5 separate regions of the Homo sapiens genome follow, and all the other regions are linked to region 1. Evidence: promoter capture Hi-C in 16 types of primary human blood cells and fetal thymus (Javierre and others, 2016). All regions are on one chromosome and are shown on one strand. The core of a region is centred on a gene start or on the middle of the fragment in contact, and the rest is flanking DNA. Distances in the headings are between cores, read along the strand shown. Region 1 holds the start of COPS4 (COP9 signalosome subunit 4). Region 2 overlaps ABRAXAS1 (abraxas 1, BRCA1 A complex subunit). Region 3 overlaps MRPS18C (mitochondrial ribosomal protein S18C). Region 4 overlaps HELQ (helicase, POLQ like). Region 5 overlaps HPSE (heparanase).

Region 1 (3,156 bases), core at 182-2,681:
GGTAAGTATATATGCACACACATACTCATCTTGTCCTCAGATAATGTCAGACAAGAATAAGTCCTATTATTATCTTCATTTTCCTGAGTGGGAAAATGCAGCACAAAGTAGTTAAGCCCAAAATATACGGCTGAATTTCCCACTGATAAAAGTAGATTACGTTTGCCACCAGAGAAAAGGCAGCCTAGCCTACTTAAAACAGTCAGAATTTCAATGACCAGGTTAGAACAGGTGTATCCCATTAATATACATCAAAGTGATTTCAGCTGTCAGGATGTAAACATTAAGATCAACTTGAGAGGCATACTTTATTTACTTATTTATTTACGGAGACGGGTGGCGGCGGGGGGGGGGGTCTCACTATGTTGCCCAGGCTGGTCTAGAACTCCTGCCCTCAAGTGATCCTCCCTCTCAGATCTCTCAGGCCTCAAGTGATCTCAGCCTCTCAAAGTGCTGGGATTACAGGCGTGAGCCACTGCACCCGGCCTAGAGAGGCATACTTTAAACAGAAAGCATGTTCATTACAAAAGAGAAATGCTGTGACATCTACAAAGAGAAAATGAACAATATACGTCTACCTACCTATGCTTAATACTGTTGACAACTGCTTGCAGAACAGGCACGTCACACATTTTAACTTGGAGTGAACCTAAGCATTCTATATAAATTTCGACAAAATTCAGATTCCTGCAAACATCACTACTGTAGACATCCTGACCCACGATATGAGCACATTCCGCCTATGTGCCATCAGAGTTGGTGGCAGAGAAAATACCCGAAACACAAGGACCCACAGAAGACAGTCTGAATGGTCTGGACGACATGACAGCGGCCATACCGCCTCAACCTCAGCCAGCCCCAAGAAGCCATCTCCCCGAAAAACGCAGCATCAAGGCCCCAGAATATACATTTCTCTGAATCAAAAAAAAAGAGGAGGAAGGTCCAAAGAGAGGCCAGATTCGGTGTGAGGCCGGCCAGCGATGGGAAGAGGTACCAGGGAAGGCTACTAAGGCCAGGGTAGCAGTCGTCTCTCAGACCGCTGTTCCAAAATCCTAAGGGACCAGAAAGATTCTATCAAGAACTGAACAAGCTGACAATCATTTCAAGTCTATAGCCTCGAAGGCCCCTGCACAAGGTCCCCTCCAGCTTTCTGCTTCTCCCAACATTTGCCTCCCCAGCCGACCTCAGGCCCGCCCCCTTGGACGTCAGGCCGGCTCCTAGCTTCACGCCCAAGAGCCGTGGCCAACCTAAGGAGATTAAGGCTGTGGCTTTCTTTCCCCACCTCTGTACTCCCGCGTTCCTGGGAAATACTCACTTGCCAGCCAGATCTTTATGAGAGCCGCTCGAATTCATGAGCTGGGCCAAATCCTGTCGCACGGCTGCCGCCATCTTTCTCCCAGCTCAGCGGTGGATGCGGGGGCCTCTGGCAGCCAAAAAGAAAACGAGTGTGGTCCTCCAGAGTGCAGCCAGAGGGAACCTGAGATGCTACAGAGTAGCGTCTGTGTGGGCCAGAGCGTCGGGTGTGGGAGCCTGGGCTAGCTCCGCCCCCAGGGTTGAGTGATGCGGAGCTCCACTCCTCAGGTCTGAGGCCTGCCCAGGTCTCTCCTACAGGCTCTGGCTCTCACGCTTGGACTTTGGATTGGCTGATGAACTCCAGTAGTGAGTCTCTGGTGTAACTCCAATGAGTAGCCGGTACATAAAACGACTGCGTTTTCGCAAAGTTCCGTTTCTCACGTCTGTGGTTTACCGTCCTTCGATCTTTCAGGCAGCGCTTAAACTGCCTGTGGTAAAGAATGAGTTTTGTTTCCGATTCACCACAGAAGATACTTTTTAGAAATACAATTAAAATGTCCCTATTCCTCCTCCCACTCCGTGCACTTTATAATGGTTGGTCAGACATTCCAGTTTGTCCAGTACAAAGCGATTTTCCCTCTGTCGTCCTGGAGTAATGATTAATATCCCCCCTTTCGGCCGGGCGCGGTGGCTCACGCCTGTAATCCCAGCACTTTGGGCAGCCGAGGCGGGCGGATCACGAGGTCAAGAGATCGAGGCCATCCTGGCTAACACGGTGAAACCCCGTTCTCTACTAAAAATACAAAAAAATTAGCCGGGCGTAGGTGGTGCACCCCTGTAGTCCCAGCAACTCGGGAGGCTGAGGCAGGAGAATGGCGTGAACCCGGGAGGCGGAGTTTGCAGTGAGCCGAGATCGCGCCACTGCACTCCAGCCTGGGAGACACAGCGAGACTCGGTCTCAAAAAATAATAATAATAATAATAACATCCTCCCTTTCATTCTAGAAACCGTTCCATTTCAATGGAAGATTATATGGTCGCCTGCGTTTGTATAACATTCAATACTCATGTATTCTTATAGAATTTCTGCAAATACAAGCAAATATTAATAAAATAAAATTTTACCTCTCACAAGCAACACCACATAATTGTTCTGCCTTGGTTTTTTTTTTTTGCACTTTTCCTGGTACTGTGGTTTGAAATAATTGTCTTCTCCAAAACTCATGTTGAGGGCTGGCGCCGTGGCTCACGTCTGTAATCCCAGCACTTTGGGAGGCCGAGGTGGACGGATCACCTGAGGTCGGGAGTTCGAGACCAGCCTGACCAACATGGAGAAACCCCGTCTCAACTAAAAATACAAAAATTAGCTGGGTGTGGTGGCACGTGCCTGTAATCTCAGCTACTCGGGAGGCTGAGGCACGAGAATCACTTGAAGCTGGAAGGCGAAGGTTACGGTGAGCCAAGATTGCACCACTGCACTCCAGCCTGGGCAACAAGAGGGAAATTCCGTCTCAAAAAAAAAAAAAAAAACAAACAACTCATGTTGAAACTTCATCTTTAATGTGGCAGTATTTAGAGGTGGGCCTTAAATAGGTGATTGGATCATGAGGGCAAAACCCTTGATCTATTCATGGATTAATGGGTTGTCATGGGAGAGAACATGTGGCTTTATTAGAAGAGGAAGAGACCTGAGCTAGCATGTTAGGAAGGTCACTCCCTTGCCATGTGATACCCTGTGCTGCTTCTGAACTCTAGCAAGTCCCCACCAGCAAGAAGGGTCTCATTAGATGTGGCCCCTTGACCTTAGACTTCTTGGCCTTCATAACTCTAAGATATAAATTCCTTTTCTTTATAAATTACCCAG
Region 2 (3,156 bases), core at 208-2,707, 450 kb before region 1:
GTAATCCCAGTTACTTGGGAGGCTGAGGCACGAGAATTGCTTGAACCTGAGAGGCAGAAGTTGCAGTGAGCCGAGACTGTGCCACTGCACTACAGCCTGGGCAACAAAGCGAGACTCTGTCTCAAAAAAAGAAAAATAAGAAATATATATTAATTTTAAAATAATTTAAAAGGATATGTTGTACTCATTTTGCAGTTAAAATTATGACCATGGACTGGTCTAAAGTAAGAAATAGTATGAGACTTAGGAAGCAGATAAGATTACTGCCAGGGAAACAAGGATGAAACACCTGCTGTTTAGTAGGAAGATGGCCCGGCAATAGGAAGACCAAGGAAAAAGATAAAATGTTAAATGCTGCAGAAAAGTTGGAAGATGAGAACTGAGAAAATGCAGTAATTAGATTATTAGATGACTGAAAATCCTCAGTAATTTCTGGAGCGTAATGGGGAAGAGACCAGGCTGTAAAGGGTTTGAGGAGTGGGTGCTAAAGCAGTTATAACTGGTGGCAGCTTCTCTTTTAGGGAAAAGCAGGGGAGAACCTTTAAAATGCATAGGGAAAAAAATGGTTAAAAGAAATAAAATGTATAGGGAGTTTTCTGATTGTCTAATATAGTTTTTCTCTATATATGTGTATGTATTTTTAAACAAAATTGGTAGTGTACTTTATAAAAGGTTTGGCATCATATTGTGTCATGATCACTTTACAATGTTGCATAATCCTCTACAATATTATTTTTCATTTCTTTTCTTTTTTTTTTTGAGGCAGAGTCTCACTCTGTTGCCCAGGCTGGAGTGCAGTGGCGCAATCCCGGCTCACTGCAACCTCCGCCTCCCAGGTTCAAGCGATTCTCCTGCTTCAGCCTCCCAAGTAGCTGGGATTACAGACGTGTGCTGCCACGCCCGGCTAACTTTTTGTATTTTTATTAGAGATGGGGTTTCATTATGTTGGCGAGGCTTGCCTTGAACTCCTGACTTCAAGTGATCCACTCGCCTCGGTCTTTCAAAGTGCTGGGATGACAGGCGTGAGCCACCATGCCTGGCCTACAATACTATTTTTCATAACTGCATTGTGTTCTACCCTGTGGCCTTACTGTGATTTAAACATTCCTTTAAATATGTTATAATCAGCTGTTTCTAGTTTTTCATTATCATAAAGTATACTACAGTGAATATCCTTGTATATCAATATTTGGCGTTATCTATTATAGATTCCTAGATATGGTATTACTGTGTCACAGGGTATGAACACTTGTAAGGTTTTTGATCTGCATTAGCAGATTGCTTTCCGGAAAGATTATATCAGTTTGTACTCATACTGTATGTTATTTTTGTTTGCTACTTTACAAGTTTAAAAATAGAAATATATAAAGTAGGAAATAAAAAATTTAAACTCTCATTAGTTTCCTTAGTGGCAACTACTATTTCATGGATTCTTACTAGCTTGCAATATTCATAAAACACACAAATGTAAATGTGTGTGTGTATATATATGTGTATATATACATTTTGTTTTTGTTTTGAGATGGAGTCTCATTCTGTCGCCCAGACTGGAGTGAAGTGGCATGATCTCGGCTCACTGCAACCTCTGCCTCTCGAGGTCAAGCGATTCTCCTGCCTCGGCCTCCGGAGTAGCTGGGATTACAGGCACACGCAACCATGCCCGGCTAATTTTTTTTGTATTTTTAGTAGAGATGGGGTTTCACCATGTTGGCCAGGCTGGTCTCGAACTCCTGACCTCAAGTGATCCTCTCACCTCGGCCTCCCAAAGTGCTGGGATTGCAGGCGTGAGCCACCATGCCCGGCCAAATGTGTATACTTTTTATTTACACAAATGGGATCTTACTATATGTGCCTAATATCTCCCAAGATATCACAAGTACAGAATAGTATCTGTGTGTATAATTCATCACTCTTTGTTTTTTTTTTTTTTGAGATGAGGTCTTGCTCTTTCAGCCAGGCTGGAGTGTAGTGGCACAAACACTGGTCACTGCAGCCTTGACCTCCTGGGCTTAAGCAATCCTCCTGCCTCAGCCTCCTGTATTGCTGGGACCATAGGTATGCACCACCACGCCTGGCTAATTTTTTATTGTTTGTAGAGACAGGTTCTCACTTTGTTGCCCAGGCTGGTCTCAAACTCCTAGGCTCAAGCAATCCTCCTGTCATTACAAAGTGTTTGGATTACAGGGGTGAGCCACCATACTCGGCCCATCATTCTTTCTGCTGGCTGCATATATCCTGTTGTATAGACGTACCATAATTTTTTTAACCATCTAAGAATGATTTTCTGGGTTTTTTTGTTAACATAAACAGTATTACCATGAACATTTAGTATTGTACATTTCTTTGTGCTGTTGAGTGTATATTTGAAAGTCACACTCCTGGAGGTAGACTAGCTGATTGCCTTTTGGAAAACTTATGCCATTTTAGGCTTCTCCACAGTATATAAAAGTGCCTAGGTCCCCATACTCTTTTTTTTTTTTTTTTTTTGAAACAGAGTCTCACTCTGTCACCCAGGCTGGAGTGCAGTGGTGGGATTCCGGCTCACTGCAACCTCTGCTTCCCGGGTTCAAGTGATTATCCCTGTCTCAGCCTCCCGAGTAGCTGGGATTACCGGCGACTGCCACCACACCCAGCCAATATTTGTATTTTTAGTAGAGATGGGGCTTTGCCATCTTGGCCAAGCTGGTCTCAAACACCTGACCTCAGGTGATCTGCCCGCCCTGGCCTCCCAAAGTGCTAGGATTACAGGCGTGAGTCACCATGCCCGGCCCCCATGCTCTTGCCAACACTAGGTATTATCAAATCTTTTAATCTTTGCCAATTTGATAAGTGAAAAAAATAGCATTTTAATTTGCATTTCTTAATTACAAAAGAGGTTAAGTATTTTTTTGATACTTTTTACTTTTTTTCTTGGCCATTTTCTCTGAAAAGGATAGGCCTATTCTTTGGCTGCATTTGTACTGTTTTGCTTTTAGTGATTTGTAATCACATTACTTAAGGAAACTGGGCTTTTGTCATGTTTTATACATATGCTAATACAGTTTATAATTTTTTTTCTGTCAATAAACACTTTAATGAGAACCGAGGTCTATAATATATATAGCAGTAACCACCCTGGCCTATGCCTTCTGCTCTAGCCCAAGTCTGGGGCCCAAC
Region 3 (3,156 bases), core at 380-2,879, 430 kb before region 1:
GATATCATGCAATAAATTTGCAAAACATCATCTAAAATTTAAATTTGTCCTACATTTGTACTTGCTAAATCTGGCAGCCTTAATTATTACACAACTATAACACAACACAAACAGTAATCTCTCCCCTAGTTTAGAGTCCTTTGCATGAAATTTAGCAAATCTATCATTTTGAATACAGTACAAGCCTGGTAATCCAGTGTATTTGGGATAGGCCAGTGGAACTCAGAACTGATACATATATACATGTATGTCTATCATATTCAATGTCTATTAGGTGTAAATCATCTCTTCATGTAAAAGACACTACTGGTTTGAGGGTAGACTCGTCTAGGAATATTTTGTCCTTCTGTGACAGCACCACTATCCATCCCAATGTAACATTTCTACAAAGGGAAGATATCTTAACCAGGCATACTTATATTTGCTAGTTGGAAAATCATTCTGAACAGTTTTAATTCCATTCTATTGAATGGATTATTGTATGAGCTATTTGGGGATCAGATATAAATGACAATCACACAGAACCACTTTTATTCAACATAGATAAAATGTGATGAGTGTTAACATTTTAAATAAGCAATCTGCTTAATGGACATTGGTATGAAGGGGAAGTGTCATTCTTTACCTCACTCCTCAAACACTTTTCTATCCAAAGGTTGGTTTGAGTCAGTATTGGCATCATACAACCACTTACTGTAAAATAAGTTTATTAGTGGTAACGTGATAGAATTTATTCCCGATATCTGATGTTACAAACTTTAGGGTCCTTGAGATATGCAGGATCCTTGTATGTAACTGGCATAAACCCTGTAAAGAGATAATTAAAGTTCTTGACAAAACATAATGAGCAAAATTTCAGCTAGCTCAATTCAGTTGTTGAGGTATTCTTTCTTACCCATTATTTGAGCTCTCTTAATTGCTTTTGTGATTTCTTTCTGTTTCTTCCCACAAAGACCTGTAAAATAAAAAGCTTTCTTATTCATAAAAAATGTCAATATTTAAAGTTTGCAATTTTTTTTTTTGAGATGGAGTCTCCCTGTGTCACCCAGGCTGGAGTACAGTGGTGCTCTCTCGCCTCACTGCAACCTCCGCCACCCAGGCTCAATCGATTATCTTGCCTCAGCCTCCTTAGTAACTGGAATTACAGGCATGCACCGCCACACCCGGATAATTTTTTTGTATTTGTAGTAGAAACGGGGTTTCACCATATTGGCCAGGCTGGTCCTGAACTCCTGGCCTCAGGTGATCTGCCCACCTCAGCCTCCCAAAGTGCTGGGATTACAGGTGTGAGCCAACATGCCCAGCCTCAACAAGTTTTTAAGTCAAGGATTGGTAAATCATTTTTGTCAAGGGCCACAATAATAATCTAGGTTTTGTGGGCCATACAGTCTCCATCACTGCCACTCAACTCTGCTGTTGTAGCTCGAAAACAACCATATGGCACTACGTAAACAAAACTACAAAAACAAGTGGGGTTGGGTGCAGTGGCTCACACCTGTAATCCCAGCACTTTGGGAGGCCTAGGCAGGTGGATCACCTGAGGTCAGGAATTCAAGACCAGCCTGGCCAACATGGAGAAACCCAATCTCTAAAAATACAAAAATTAGCCAGGCGTGGTGGTGCATGCCTGTAATCCCAGCTATTCGGGAGGCTGAAGCATGAGAATCACTTGAACCCAGGAGGCAGAGGTTGCAGTGAGCCGAGATTGTGCCACAGCACTCCAGCCTGGGTGACAGTGAGATTCCATCTCAAAAAAAAAAAAAAGTGGCATTTGTATATGATGAACCTAATCAAGATAAAAAGGGAGCAGGTCGAATTTGGCCTATGGGCCATAGTTTGCTGACACCAAGTTTAAGTATCAATCTAGGAATGATTATAGTATATTCCAAAACATCAACAACAGTTTTTTAAAGCCCAGTTTTTCTATATAGTTAACTCTGCATAAGACAGCAAAATAATAATCCTCTTGGCCTAAGAGACTTTTTCATAGTAACTAGCTCTAGTCCCTGTAGTATCTGATCTAGTAGTAATTTATAGCACAATTTGAAAATTTGAGTTTTCTTAAATGATAGAAATAGATTGATATAATTCGTATCTACATTTATATTCCCATAATAAAAAAGAACATACCTGTAATGTGCCTTCCATAAATGCATCCAGTAAATGGAGAAACAAACTGGGACAAAAGCTGTTTTGGAGTTTTATGTGGAGGGGAAAAAAAAGTATCTGTTATTTATTTCTGAATGTGTAAATTTCAAAAAACAACCTTCAGGTTATATAAAGCTTTACTAAATTTCAGACACATTTCATAAAATATAAGAAAAAAATATTGTTATCCTCCTGTTACCTTTTAAATATTTTCTATCCAGTGTGTCAAGTCTATATATAATTAAACAGCAGATTAATCAGCATATTCATTCAATGGTAAATCTGTTTTCTTGACTTCCACAGATACCTTTCTAAAATATTGCTTGAAACAAGCTACTAAAAAATTTCATCTATCCTGACAAGCTATCACATTACCCTCTGATAATCATTAAGATAAATTATCAGGGGGTAATGAGATTTTCAAGAGGTACAAGTACACCAGGCATTTGCTATAATTTATGTTTTATTTAAATACTTCTTTAGAACCTTTCTAGGTGCTAGTCATTATTCTTGGCACTTTGCATAATCTTCCTAGTATGTGTGTTTTTGTAATTCTTGGTTCTTCCTCAAAGGCAGCTATCACTTTATACTATTGTCAATATATGGAATTCTTTTTTTTTTTTTTTTTTTTTTTTGACAGAGTTTTACTCTTGTCACCCAGGCTGGAGTGCAATGGCACGATCTCAGCTCACTGCAACTTCCGCCTCCTGGGTTCAAGCAAATCTCCTGCCTCAGCCTCCCAAGTAGCTGGGATTACAGGCATGCACCACCACACTCAGCTAATTTTTGTATTTTTAATAGAGACGGGGTTTCACCACATTGGCCAGGCTGGTCTCAAACTCCTGACCTCAGGTGATCCGCCCGCCTTGGCCTCCCAAAGTGCTGGGATTACAGGCGTGAGCCACCACACCCAGCCAACATACAGAATTCTAGCGCTATTCACTTGCCCCAAATTTGCAACTTCTAACTTGCTGAGAGTTAGACAAGAGATAAGTAATATGTGAATCA
Region 4 (3,156 bases), core at 307-2,806, 400 kb before region 1:
TTTTACAATGATTTTGATTATAAAAGCTTAAGGAAATTAAATTATCATTAAAAAAATTCTCAGTAAATCATTCATTTTCTTAGAGTAATTCAAGGTAATAAGATGGAGACACTGGCTAAGTGATGGAAACATTGTAGGATGTGAAGTTTCTAAAGTGCAAGTGTTTAGGCAGTGTTTTACCATGGAAGTATGATTTAATAATATGTATGTTTCCATCTTCAGAAAAGAAAATTTATGTCTTTAAAAAAACTATCCCCTATAAAGATATATGTTATAAAGAAAAAAACAGTTATAACATCCAGAGCAAAGGTCTAAACCTGGTGTCCATGGATTCAAAGGAAGTACAGGAATGAATTTTAGGAAATCCACGAACCCTCTGAAATTATATGTAAAGTGTTGTATTTATGTAAATAGTTATATTTTTCCTTTTTTTTTTTTTTTTTTTTAGACAAGGCTTTGCTCTTTCACCCAGGCTGGTAGGTTCATAGCTCATTGCAACCTCAAACTCCCGGGTTCAAGCAATCATCCCACCTCATCCTCCCCCATAGCCTGGAACTGCAGGTGCATGCACCACCATGCCCGGCTAATTTTTGTTATTTTTTGTAGAGGTGGTCTTGCTTCACTGCCCAAGCTGATCTTGAACTCTTGGGCTCAAGCAATCCTTCTGCCTCTACCTCCCAAAGTGCTGAGATTACAGGCATGAGCCATCGCATTTCGCCTTTCCTTAGTTTTGATAAGATTTTCACAGGGTTCTGTAATCCACAAAAAGATTGAGAGACTGCCTAATAGTTAATGAAGTCAGAATCAAAATTCTAAGAACATTTAATGTACTTAACTCAATGGAAATAGTACATTAAAGAATGTTTACATTAGCATCTACTAAAATGAAAATGGTAGAAATTTTGTCACTAAAAGATCAAGGGCTCATATTTCTAACAGATCTTTTTCATAGGGAATATCTGAAACATAAGGAGAAAGAAAAATGTGAGGTGATTAAGAACTTGAAGAATATTGGCAATGGCAACCTGTGTCCTGTTTTAAAGCGCACTATCCCATTTGGAGTTGCCTATCACCACAGTGGCTTAACAAGTGATGAAAGGAAACTCTTGGAGGAGGCCTACTCCACAGGAGTGCTCTGTCTTTTTACCTGCACATCTACCCTAGCGGCAGGTGTCAACCTACCAGCTCGAAGGTAAGAGATAAGTAAGTGTTGACCAGGCTCAGAACTTTTCCATTTCTAGCTTGCGAGGAGTTTTGTTGTTTTATGCTTTCTCAGTAGTGGATGAGAATTTATCAAATGTTCTTTTAGCATATGCTGAGTTGATTGGTTGGTTTATTTTCTTTAATATTTTAATGAATATGTAATGAAATATGTAATGAAAAATAACGTTAATAGATTTCTTGATATTAGAATTCCATCCTTTCTGCTCTTTATATCTGGTTTTGATGTTAGGGTCTATTAATCTGGTTTTGTAGAAATAGTTGGCAAGTGTTTTACCTTTTTTATGATATGAAAGAGTTTATTTAACATAGAGATTTCCTTGAAATCTTGGAGAGCTGATCCATAGGCAATTTGTGTCTAATATATGTATTTTAAAGCAGGCCCTTGATTACCTTTCCAGTTATTACCAAAGGTGTAGGCCTGTGTAATTGACTTCTCCCCTTTATAATTTATGATCATGGGGTATTTTGCTAATAAATGATCAATTTTTATAAACTTTCCATGAGTGTTTAAAAAAATATGTATTTTCAGTTGAATATGCAGTTTTGTACATCTCAGCGAGATCACAGAGGTTCATTGTGTTATCGGCTTCTCTATTTTCTTACTATATTTGATTCCTTGGTCTATCAATTTCAGAGAAGTGTGTTAGTCTCCCACTTTAATTATGTAGTTATCAGTTTCTCCTTTTTGCATCTCTAGAAGTTATTACTTTTTATATTTCAAAACTATTTAGATATACAAAGGTTTACTTCAAATATCTTATTGCCGAATTATACCTTTTATCAATACAATAAATACTTGTTTTTCTCATTTAATAATTTTGCTTTGAATACCAGGACTCATTTTTTTTTTTTGCCACGTATGTACCTTTTTCCATTCTTTTATTTTCAATTTCTGTCTCTCATTAAGTTTTCCATTTTTCAGACAATTGAAGAAAAAAATGAAAGTTATATATCCTGTTTCTATTATTCCAGTGGTTACTCTTAAAATTTTAAGTTGTAACCAAACATTTTTTATTACTTTAGAATTAATCAATAACTGTCCTCTCCTGAACATAAAAAGAGGCTTAGCATGTCCTTAGTATATTCTACTCTGCCCCATGAATGTTGCAATTACTTAGAATTTTAGTGCCAGATTTAAACATTTTCTTTCATCTTATGTAGTATTTAAACTTACCTGTAAATCATACTTCTTTTTTGCTTACCACTGCCTCTTATATCCCACATCTTTCTTCTCTGATTTTTTTTTTTTTAATTTTGCCTTCCTTGAGTAATCCTTTTTAGAATACCGCTTTAGGGGGTAAAACATTTTGACTCTTTGCATAGTTGAAGATATCTGTATTTTGGCCTCACACTTTTACACTTCACTAGCAAAAGAATTCTAGATTCAATTTTTTTCCTTTAGGGATTTTGTAAATATTGTTCCATATTTTCTAGAGGCCAATGTTGCTCATTTTTGTCTCTGCATGGATTTTCTGTTTTTCTTTTCCAGAAACTTTTAGACTTTTCTCTTTAACCTCCCAATTTTGTCATGGTGTATAATAATAGTTGTAATTACTACATTCCCCTCCCTTTCATGTAGTAACAACTTTACATGCATTGACTTGATACAGCTTCACAATAACTCTGTGAGGAAGGTCATATTTTATTACACACCTATTATAGAAGGGGAAACTGAGGCACTAAATAATTAAATAATTTTCCCAACTTTAAAAAGTTACATAACTTTTTCCCAACTCATTTTCCAACAAATGAGTTTTAAAGCCAGTGTTTGAACCCAGGAAGTTTGATTTTACAATCCCAACAGTACTACTTTTCATTCATAGGGCTTAGCACTTGGGTGGATGCTTTTAATCTAAGCTTTATGCCTTTCTTCTTTGAGTAATTTTTTTTCTGTTATTTCTTTTTCTTCCCATTATCTCTGTTCCTTGCTTT
Region 5 (3,156 bases), core at 401-2,900, 270 kb before region 1:
CACCTTGCCTGCTGTCTAGATAGAGCCAATTATCAAGACAGGGGAATTGCAAAGGAGAAAGAGTAATTTATGCAGAGCCAGCTGTGCAGGAGACCAGAGTTTTATTATTACTCAAATCAGTCTCCCCGAACATTCGAGGATCAGAGCTTTTAAGGATAATTTGGCCGGTAGGGGCTTAGGAAGTGGAGAGTGCTGGTTGGTCAGGTTGGAGATGGAATCACAGGGAGTGGAAGTGAGGTTTTCTTGCTGTCTTCTGTTCCTGGATGGGATGGCAGAACTGGTTGGGCCAGATTACCGGTCTGGGTGGTCTCAAATGATCCACCCAGTTCAGGGTCTGCAAGATATCTCAAGCACTGATCTTAGGTTTTACAACAGTGATGTTATCCCCAGGAACAATTTGGGGAGGTTCAGACTCTTGGAGCCAGAGGCTGCATTATCCCTAAACCGTAATCTCTAATGTTGTAGCTAATTTGTTAGTCCTGCAAAGGTAGACTTGTCCCCAGGCAAGAAGGGGGTCTTTTCAGAAAAGGGCTATTATCATTTTTGTTTCAGAGTCAAACCATGAACTGAATTTCTTCCCAAAGTTAGTTCAGCCTACACCCAGGAATGAAGAAGGACAGCTTAAAGGTTAGAAGCAAGATGGAGTCAATGAGGTCTGATCTCTTTCACTGTCATAATTTCCTCAGTTATAATTTTTGCAAAGGCGGTTTCAGTCCCAGCTACTTGGGAGGCTGAGACAGGAGGATTAATGGAGCCCAGGAGTTTGAGGTTGCAGAGAGCTATGATCACGCCACTGCACTCCAGCCTGGGTGACAGAGTGAGACCCTGTCTCTAAATAAATAAATAAGTAAATAAATAAATACATAAATAAAATCAAGATGGTGTGCAATTAGAATTGAGCGATTTTGTTTCCAAACCTCAAGAAAGCTTGGTCTTGCTCTGTCCCAGGTGGCTGGATAAATTGGGCCTGTCAGCCCGAATGGGAATAGAAGTGGTGATGAGGCAAGTATTCTTTGGAGCAGGAAACTACCATTTAGTGGATGAAAACTTCGATCCTTTACCTGTAAGTGACCATTATTTTCCTAATTCTAGTGGAGTAGATTAAAGTCAACTCAGGACCTCTGGTGTTAACCTCCTATGAACAGTCAGTCCTCTCAGTAACTAGCCAAATCATGAGATGATGAATTAGAAGGAGCCTTAGATAGCATCCAATCTAACATTTTTTTGTGTGTTTGAAGAGAAGAAATCAAGAGCTAGGAATAACTTTTTAAAGGTAAGCCATTTGCAGTATAGTGTGGATTTTGTTTAAAAGGGGATAATTTGAAATTTTATGACTCATTATACAAGACAAAATAAGTTGGATTTTCAAATGTTTTACAAAGTAAATCAAAGTTATAATTGCCTACAGTACGCAAAGCTTCAAAACATTTTTTATGTTATGAAATTGTAATTTATTTAACCTTAAAATGAGCCAGTACCATGTGTTTGCTTAAAAATCTCATGCTAAGAATTTACTATGTTGTTAATAATCTTCAAGATATTTATGAATAAAGTCTTATTTCTAATCCTTCCTCCAACTGTATCTGGTGCTAAATCAGGAAATGTTTCTTCCCAAAAAGCCTCGTGGAAGATCTGTATGTCTAAATATATGTCAGGGATAATACAGATGTAGCCCTGAGAAGCATGACCTTGATTTTTATAGTCTAAAATGTCATTTGCAGATATATATTTTCTAAGAATAATTCCTAAAAGAATTATTTGAATGTTGTAGGAAAGCTAAGAAATTTTGCAAAGAGCGTACGTGAAAATATAAGCTAGGCTTTTGTGGTTTGTGGATAGACTTCCCAACAAAATTGCTTTTTATCTATAGTGATCCAAGCTTGTGGAACATATTAGTCATCTTTTTTTAGAAAATTCTTAGAAAAGTGATCTTGCAAAAATGGAATTTATCTTTCCCCAAGTATATTCTGTCATGTATAGAGTTAAACTAAGCATAGTAATTTCACCAGACAAACATTCAAAATCTACTCCTGACCTTTTTATCTCATCCAAATTTTCCCAGGGCCCAGACATAAACCTTTGCCTTACGAACTCTTTGTATATGCACTAAATATGCTTCTCCTTCAAGGTTCTCAGTCAGCTAGAAAAATGTGCAAGAGTAAATGGTACCCTTCTCACTTGTAGATCCAAGAGAATTAGACTTAAACTCACTCTACATGTCTGTGACTTTATTTTATTTGCATGACAGTCCTGTGAGGTGGCAAGGCAGGTATCTTGGATCCATTTTTTAGATAAGGAAGTTCAAATTGAGAAGAGGTTGCATGATTTACAGGAAGCCATACTGTAGTCCTATGTTACTCTTAAAAATCCCATTCAAATCCTGCTTCTGAGGCCTGCATACTTTCTACCCTACCAGTCATTGACCCATGCTTATGTCTCCTTTGAAAACATTGATTCCACTCTTGTCTCCAGTGAAAAAGTGGAATTTAAGCAGAGAAACAAAAGCCATTTGTCTTGTTAAGTCTACTTTCCCTCTACTTTCAAGAAGGAAAGTTGGGGTATGTGTTGAATGGTGATTTATTTATTTATTTATTATTTTAAAAATTGATACAAGGTCTTACTGTATTGTGCAGGCTGGTCTCAAACTCCTGGGCTCAAGTGATCATCCCACCTCAGCCTCCCAGTGTTGGGATTACAGCATGAACCATTGTGCCCACCACCGATCCGCAGTTTTTTAAGAAAAACTTTTACTATAGAAAATTTTAATCATATACAAAATACAGAGGAAAGTATATGAACCCACTTTAGGAGACTAGAATATGCCACCCCAAAATATGCCACTTTGGCATAAGGATTATTTCGAGCTAAAGGCAACTGGGAAGAAACACATAGAAGAAAAGTTCTCTGTCCTTCTCCATTTGCCTAAAAGCAGGACATGAATCTTAAAAGTCCCCCTCCTTCCCTTTCTACCAGGAAAAACAAGAGTTAATCACTGAAGATAACTTCAGACCCTTATCAGTGTAGAGATGGCACTAGAAGAATCTATATTACATACTCATTTATTTTCCTTCCCACAACTTGCCACCCCAGAGACTAAAAATCCTTTTCCTTTGTCATGTCTCTTGTCCAAAAATTTGCTCTATAAGCTGGAGTTCT

What was found. Contacts are between HindIII fragments. The CHiCAGO score rates a contact against its expected background, and 5 or more counts as called.
Region 2: a contact is called between a fragment that was not itself captured here and the fragment with the promoter of COPS4 in region 1, in 1 of 17 cell types (fetal thymus). The highest score is 5.3, in fetal thymus.
Region 3: a fragment that was not itself captured here is called in contact with the fragment with the promoter of COPS4 in region 1 in 5 of 17 cell types (naive B cells, monocytes, naive CD8 T cells and 2 more); the score reaches 6.6 in naive B cells.
Region 4: a contact is called between a fragment that was not itself captured here and the fragment with the promoter of COPS4 in region 1, in 2 of 17 cell types (neutrophils and naive B cells). The highest score is 10.4, in neutrophils.
Region 5: a contact is called between a fragment that was not itself captured here and the fragment with the promoter of COPS4 in region 1, in 2 of 17 cell types (naive CD4 T cells and total CD4 T cells). The highest score is 6.0, in naive CD4 T cells.

Annotation. Positions count from the first base shown.
Region 1 is chr4:83,033,458-83,036,613 of GRCh38, reverse strand. COPS4 (COP9 signalosome subunit 4) reads right to left here and starts at 1,431. Exons shown (of 10, transcript NM_016129.3): 1 at 1,316-1,431. The coding sequence starts at 1,389. RefSeq lists enhancers at 942-1,001, 543-1,048, 1,062-1,121, 1,162-1,211, 1,312-1,661 and 2 more. The HindIII fragment of the contact is 6,632 bases long and covers 1-3,156 here.
Region 2 is chr4:83,478,735-83,481,890 of GRCh38, reverse strand. The region is part of intron 2 of ABRAXAS1 (abraxas 1, BRCA1 A complex subunit); the gene reads left to right. Among named protein-coding and RNA genes, the nearest start is that of ABRAXAS1, 4.8 kb to the left of the region's middle. The HindIII fragment of the contact is 5,215 bases long and covers 1-3,156 here.
Region 3 is chr4:83,458,772-83,461,927 of GRCh38, reverse strand. MRPS18C (mitochondrial ribosomal protein S18C) reads right to left here. Exons shown (of 6, transcript NM_016067.4): 4 at 2,131-2,188; 5 at 896-955; 6 at 1-807. The coding sequence ends at 731. ABRAXAS1 (abraxas 1, BRCA1 A complex subunit) reads left to right here. Exons shown (of 9, transcript NM_139076.3): 9 at 1-2,411. Among named protein-coding and RNA genes, the nearest start is that of MRPS18C, 4.3 kb to the right of the region's middle. The HindIII fragment of the contact is 1,313 bases long and covers 973-2,285 here.
Region 4 is chr4:83,434,894-83,438,049 of GRCh38, reverse strand. HELQ (helicase, POLQ like) reads left to right here. Exons shown (of 18, transcript NM_133636.5): 9 at 953-1,192. Among named protein-coding and RNA genes, the nearest start is that of HELQ, 19 kb to the left of the region's middle. The HindIII fragment of the contact is 3,055 bases long and covers 29-3,083 here.
Region 5 is chr4:83,304,110-83,307,265 of GRCh38, reverse strand. It overlaps HPSE (heparanase), which reads left to right. Exons shown (of 12, transcript NM_001098540.3): 9 at 949-1,063. Among named protein-coding and RNA genes, the nearest start is that of COQ2, 21 kb to the right of the region's middle. The HindIII fragment of the contact is 462 bases long and covers 1,420-1,881 here.